Linked DNA regions of Homo sapiens: region 1 is linked to region 2. Evidence: promoter capture Hi-C in human tissues and cell types (Jung and others, 2019). All regions are on one chromosome and are shown on one strand. The core of a region is centred on a gene start or on the middle of the fragment in contact, and the rest is flanking DNA. Distances in the headings are between cores, read along the strand shown.

Region 1 (3,555 bases), core at 688-3,187, 1.2 Mb before region 2:
TGGTATTGACAGAGAAATATAAAATTCCATAGGAGAAATTGCTTGGGGCTTTGGTTTCCTGACTTATTTGCAATTTTTAAAAATTAAGACCATCCTATTCACAAACCATCAAAAACCATCCTATTCACTTGCTTAAATATCTACAACTCATTGATTTCTTAGTACAGTCACAGAGCTATACAATTGTCTCCATAATCAATGTCAGAACATTTTTTACCATCTTCTGAAAAAACAAAACCAAACAAAAACAGAACAAAAATCTCATACTCATTAGCCGTTACTTGCAATTTTCCCAAACTCACAAACCCTACTCAACCACCATTCTACTTTCCATCTCTGTAGATTTGCCTATTCTGGAATTCAGTATAAATAGAACTATATGGTGTGTTGTCCTTTGTGATGGACTTCTTTCACCTAGACTACTGTTGTCAAGAATTACCTCATATATAAGTGCTGTATTCTTTTTTATTGGTGAATAATATTCCATTTTATGGAAATATCACATTTTGTTTATCTATTCATCAGTTAATAAAAATCTGAGTTATTTCCACTTTTTGATTATTATAAAGAGTACTGCTGTGAACATTCATGTACAAACATTTTATAGATGTATATTTTCATTTTACTAGAAGGAGAATTGTTGAGTCATGTTGGTGACTCTATATTTAAATTTTTGAAGAAATACCAAAATATTTTCCAAAGTGGCTGCAACTTTATTCATTCTTATCAACAACGTAAATGGTTCAATTTTCTCCACATCCTTGACAACACTTGATATTATCTTTTTGATTATAGCTCTCCTGGTGTGTATGAAATAATATCTCAGTGTGATTTTCATTAATATTTCCCTAATGGCAAATGATGCTGATCATCATTGTTGCTTATAATTATTCAAATATGCTTAATAACCATTTGTTTATCTCCTTTGGAGAAATGTCTGTTCCGATCATTTGCCCATCTTTTAATTGGATTACTTTTCTTTAGTAAGCTGTAAGAGTTTCTTTAGAAGTTGTGAGATACAGCTTCCTTGAAAGATATATGATTTGCAAATATTTTTGTCCATTGAGCGACTGTTCAATTTGTTTTGAAGTAAAAAATGTTTTTAACTTTGTAGGAGACCAATTTATCTATTTAAAAAAATTATTTATTTATTTATGTATTTATTTATTTATTTTTGAAACAGAGTCTTGCTCTGTCACCCAGACTGAAGTGCAGTGGCACAATCTGGGCCCACTGCAACCTCTGCCTCCCAGGTTTAAGTGATTCTCCTGCCTCAGCCTCCTGAGTAGCTGGGACTACAGGTGCACGCCACCATGCCCAGCTAATTTTGGTATTTTTAGTATAGACCAGGTTTCGCCATGTTGGCCAGGTTGGTCTTGAACTCCTGACCTCAAGTGATCCACCTGCCTCGGCCTCCCAAAGTGCTGCGATTATCGGTATGAGTCACCATACCCAGCCTAAAAATCTATTTAAATGTCATATCCAATAAATCAGACTAACTCAAGGTCAAGAAAATGCATTATCCTGTTTTCCTCTTTATTAATATAATTTTAACTCCCATATTTATATCTATGATCCATTTTAGTTTGTTTTAATGTATAATGTAAGGTAGTTGTATGAATTTATTATTTTGCATGTGGATATCCAGCTGTTGTGGCACAATTGTTGAGAAGATTAATCTTTCCCCAGTGAATTATGATGACATCTTTGTCAAAATCACTTAACCATAAATGTAAGGTTTTATTCTGTCTGACTAGAAAAGATTGGGTAGGGTACGCTCCACTTCTGTTTTGTCAAAGATTTGATATAGGATTGATACAAAGTCTTCTTTTAAGCATTTAGAAGAATTCACCAGTGAAGCCATTTTTGTCCTCATTTGAGCTTTATGAGGGAAGTTTTCAAATTACTAATTCACTCTCTTTACTATGTCTATTTCCATTTTGTTTCCTCCTTAGTCAGTTTCATTAGTTTGTGTGTTTCTAAGATTTTGTCCGTTTTATTTATGTAACCTACCTGGTTGACAAACAGTTGTGCGCTGTATTCCCTTATAGTCCTTTTTATTTCTGTAATATCCATAATGTAAATTTTGAATCAGATTATTATTTTTGTTTTTGTTATTATCATTATCCCACCAAATACAACCTACACAGATCACTAGTAAATAAAATAGGTACAGAGAGAGTTTTCCAAAAATCTCAGAAGTTTGGCCCCCTTGTCCTTTGTGCTGGTTTCTAAGGCAACCTTAATTAAAACCCACGACTACACAGAATATAACTGAAAGTTCCTTGTGTTGCACAAAACATTATACATTTGTTTATCTCTGATCAATCTACTGAATTTTAGGTGTATTCTAGATATTCTTGTTTGGGAAACTGGATATCTGGATTCAAAGTGTATTTTTCAGTCACCTCTCTGGAAGTAAAAATTGAAGCAATACGTGAAGGAGTTAAGAAGAGAAATGCAGTCTTCAAAGGGACAGATCAGGGAGGCAAGTCTGGACAGTGTATGGCAGGTCAGCAAAGCCAAAGGAGAGTACTATACAGGAGTGTCCAGGAGTGGACAACATCACAGAGATAACAGTTCACAATTTTGAAAGGATCTTTGGATTTCATGATGGGGGAGGTGCTGGTAACTGTTTCAGTACATTATGGTGCTTTGTGTGATCTGCAGTCAACTGTCACCAATTGTAAGTATCTGTCCTTTGGAATGTGCATTACGTGGCTTCCTCAGTACCCAAAGGTATCTTCATAGCTCCAGGAGGTTCTTCTCATTTCTATGTGCTGTCTTAAGCTGCTTCTGCCACTTTGAGGCTTGGGGCTCGCCACTTTAGGAATCAAAATCTTTATCACTTAACTGCTATACTTAGGGCATTATCTCTCCCTGGGTTTCAGCTGTTCCTGCTGTGCATTTGCTGGAACACAAATCTCTATCTGTCTTTGTGCCCAAAGTAGTTTCACCAAATAGAACATTAGAGAAATGTTATTTCCCCAACATACCTAAATTATCTTATCAAAAAAGGCATAGTTTTGAACATGTTTCTATCTGTTATTTACACTCACTTCCAAAAAGATTCTGAAGATGTTTATAAACAATAACTGTGCACATATCTAAGCCATTGAAAACTAGAACGAATCAAAATAATCCTAGTAGTAAGGAGATAATCGTACCAGAAAACTTAGGATAGAATAATTCCTGTTCCTGTGACTGACATCCTTTTAAACCCTAAAACTATTACAGATAGAGCAAAGAGGTAATATGTGGTAAGGATCTTTCTATCCTTTTTTTTTTTTTTTTTTTTTTTTTTTTTGAGAGAATGAGTCTGGCTCTGTAGCCCAGGCTGGAGTGCAGTGGCGCAGTCTCGGCTCACTGCAAACTCCGCCTCCCAGGTTCACGCCATTCTCCTGCCTCAGCCTCCTGAGTAGCTGGGACTACAGGTGCCCGCCACCACAACTGGCTGATTTTTTGTATTTTTAGTAGAGACGGGGTTTCACCGTGTTAACCACGATGGTCTCGATTTCCTGACCTCGTGATCCACCCTCCTTGGCCTCCCAAAGT
Region 2 (3,344 bases), core at 406-2,905:
CCTCTCGAGTAGCTGGGATTACAGGTGTGCACCACCATGCCCGGCTAATTTTTGTATTTTTAGGAGAGACGAGGTTTTGCCATGTTGGCCAGGCTGGTCACGAACTCCTGACCTCAGGTGATCCGCCTGCCTCGGCCTCCCAAAGTGCTAGGATTACAGGCGTGAGCCACTGCACCCAGCCTCTTTTTACTTTTTTTTAGTATGAGTTGTAGAAAATGTTAAGTGACGTTTGTGATTCACGTTACATTTCTGTTGGAGAGTGCTGCTGGCTAGTGCCCTAACCTCCTAGTTCGGTGGATGCATTAAATCAGTTAATGCAAGGAGGGCACCTAGCACGCTGTCTGAAGCAAATTAAGCACCTAATAGCTATTATTAATATTAGTGAGCGTACTGGTTTTCAAATGTTGTAGTCTAGTATTTTTTCCCCCAAAAAAACTGGTTGTTTTTTTTTTAATTTTTTTAAGAGGAAAGTTCTTACTCTGTCACCCAGGCTGGAGTAGAGTGTTGTGATCATAGCTCACTGCAGCCTTGAACTCCTGGGCCTAAACAATCCTTCTGCCTCAGCCACCTGAGTGACTAGGACTACAGGCACATGCCACCACGCCCAGCTAATTTTTTAATTTTTTGTAGAGACAGGGTCTATTTTCTCTAGGTTGGTCTTGAACTTCTGGCCTCAAGCAATTCCCCCACTTCGGCCTCCCAAAGTGTTGGGATTACAGGCGTGAACCACCATGCCCGGCTCCCAAACAACTTCTTATAGCAGATAAAAGAGGAGCTTTTGCAGTAGAGTAGAGCTTTGAGGAGCCCTCTTGGGGAGCCCATTCACCCTGGGCACCACCTCCACAAACTGGAAAACCCACAGGATGACATAATCTTTAAGTGTCCTTCAAGCTTTAGCATTCCCTATCATTTCAGAGAAGTTGAGGAAGTGATTGGGAAAGAATTAAGGTGTCTATGGCAGTATATTACAACGACTATGGAAAAACACTCCCATTTTGCTTGGGAAAATCAAAGTGGCTTGGCCCCAGGTCTAGGCACAGCCCAGAAATGGGAGCATCACCAATGTGAGTTGTGGGGCTTGGCCCCAGGTCTAGGCACAGCCCAGAAATGGGAGCATCACCAATGTGAGTTGGGGGTCCCCGTGGGCTCCTGGATCATTACCTACGCACGTTCACACAGACAATACCGATGCACCATGTCACCTCTCCACTTCGGCTCGGTCACAACCTGCCAACTCCCCACCCACCCAGAACCTGGGCAGACCAGACACAGGCTCTAGGCGCCAATGTCCTAGTCTAGCTCCAGGGCCAGGCAACAGTGACACTCAGCCCAGGCACCACAATGATTTTGCTGTCCTGAAGGCAACTTAGGCTCAACCAGCCCTGGTGTCTGCCAGGCAGGCTCCCAACTCTGCCTCCAGCCCTCGCCCCTGGCTCTGGTATCGTATGTGTGGACGGGGAGAGCAGCCAACTCTTCGCCGGGCTCTCTAACAAGTTCCGCGGGTCTGTTTGTTAAAGAAAAATTCCAGTGGGTGCATCCAACACATGGAACTCAAGTACAGAAATTATATTTATCCGCCCCACTGCCAAGGAGATCACATGCCCCGTGAGTCACTCCAGATGTGCTCAAAAACAGAGTCTCTCTGTGGAAGGCCAGTTCCCCAATCCCAGAGAGCGTCAAATGAAGAGAGGTACCGACTCCTGTCCCACCCAGGACGCAGCCTTCAGCCTCCAGCCTTCTGAGGCAGAGTAGGCATTTCTGCACGTCTGCAAAAGGAAGGGAGGGAAGCACTCCATCATCTCACTGGGAAGAACGGCACGGGCATACCTGCAGCTACTGGGGTTCCACTGGGCTTGAGGGTCGATTTTTCACCTTTTGAAGGACAAGATGCATTGGAAGATGTTGCTGCTTCTGCTGTTGTATTACAATGCTGAGGCTTCTATGTGCCACAGGTGGAGCAGGGGTGAGTTGCTTTTTATTCATTTGTTTGTTTGATGCTCATTATACTTTCTTCAATGCAATTCAAAATTTGGAGGGAAGGACATTAGAAGCCCCGCACTCTCCTTTTGTCTAATCTCTGTCAATTCCTTGATGCTTCTTGACGTGTTCCCCCTTCTTAGAGGGTGATGGGGAAATGACACTGGAAAAAATCAAAGCTCCTGAGGGAATTAGGTTGAGGTGGAGAACCCAGAGAGTACCCCTTTCTGGCATCCCAGAGAGAACTCATTTCTGCTTCATAGAAAGTAGAACTCATTTCTTCGACTGCCCCCACCACCTGCAGCAGTTGGGCCAGACCGTCTGGAGAGCAGGTGCTGAGACCTGCTGCTAAAATGATGGAGTGATGGGCACTGGGATGCCAAAGGCCTGCTCCCTGGGGGAACCAGAGCAGAAGCTCTGCAGAACGTTGCCTCCTCACCGGGAGGGGATGCATCTCTGCAGCCAGAGGTGGGCAGGTGAGGAGAGCAACCCTTCAACCTCCACTGCACCCACCAGCTCCGCCACCTCCTCACAAAGGAAGGGGCCCCAGCAAAGGCTGTTCTCTTATCACTGACTTCCTCCCCCTCAGGATGTAGTTCCTCCTAGCTGGATGGCATCTTTTCTCCATTTCCCTGGGAGTGGCTCTGCTTGGTAGACACTGGGAGCACCTCGAGCCAGAGTTTATCACTGTTAGGAAAGGAGGGACCCACGGCACTGCCCACTCTTCACCAATATGAACGGAAATCTTTCCACTGCCTAAAGTCAACTGAGTTCACTCTCCTAGAAAGAACCGCAAGAAGAACAGGCTCCTTCAAGTCAGGCCAGTAGGTGTTTCTAGAGATGCAAAATTGGAAGGCAACTGGCATGGTGGCATGGATGCGCCTCCTGCTTGCTTCTCAAGGACAGTGTCAGGGAAGGAAGGAGTGGCCGGAGTGGGGATAGAGCAGCGCGAGAGAAGGATCTGAAATGGGAGGGAGGCAAAAGCTACTGTACTTATGCTGGGTTTTATTTCCTCATGGTTAAACGTGACATTAGGGACTTACATCTCTAACAGGGATATAAGTCTTTTGAGCTGAGCTGTGAAGTGATCGTTGCCCAGAAACAAATAATACAGCATTCTTCATTTTTCTCATAACAACCTTGCATACACATGCACATACACACGTACACCCCTCCCTTTTCTTTTTTTAATTTTTAATTTTTAATTTCTGTGGGCACATAGTAGGTATACATATTTATGGGGCCTATGAGATGTTTTGATACAGGCACGTCACATCATGGAAGATGGGGTATCCATCCCCTCAAGCATTTAGCCTTTGTGTTACAAACAATCCAGTGATACCCTTTTAGTTACTTTTATTTGTTAT

Evidence for each region. Contacts are between HindIII fragments. The study calls those that stand out against the background at their distance.
Region 1: a fragment that was not itself captured here is called in contact with the fragment with the promoter of FAM180A in region 2 in 1 of the 25 tissues and cell types used here (mesenchymal stem cells).

The regions. Positions count from the first base shown.
Region 1 is chr7:136,930,651-136,934,205 of GRCh38, reverse strand. All of the region lies in intron 2 of CHRM2 (cholinergic receptor muscarinic 2), which reads right to left. All of the region lies in intron 2 of LOC349160 (a long non-coding RNA gene), which reads left to right. Among named protein-coding and RNA genes, the nearest start is that of MIR490, 29 kb to the right of the region's middle. The HindIII fragment of the contact is 4,485 bases long and covers 1-3,555 here.
Region 2 is chr7:135,747,124-135,750,467 of GRCh38, reverse strand. FAM180A (family with sequence similarity 180 member A) reads left to right here and starts at 1,655. Exons shown (of 4, transcript NM_205855.4): 1 at 1,655-1,963. The coding sequence starts at 1,888. The HindIII fragment of the contact is 9,123 bases long and covers 1-3,344 here.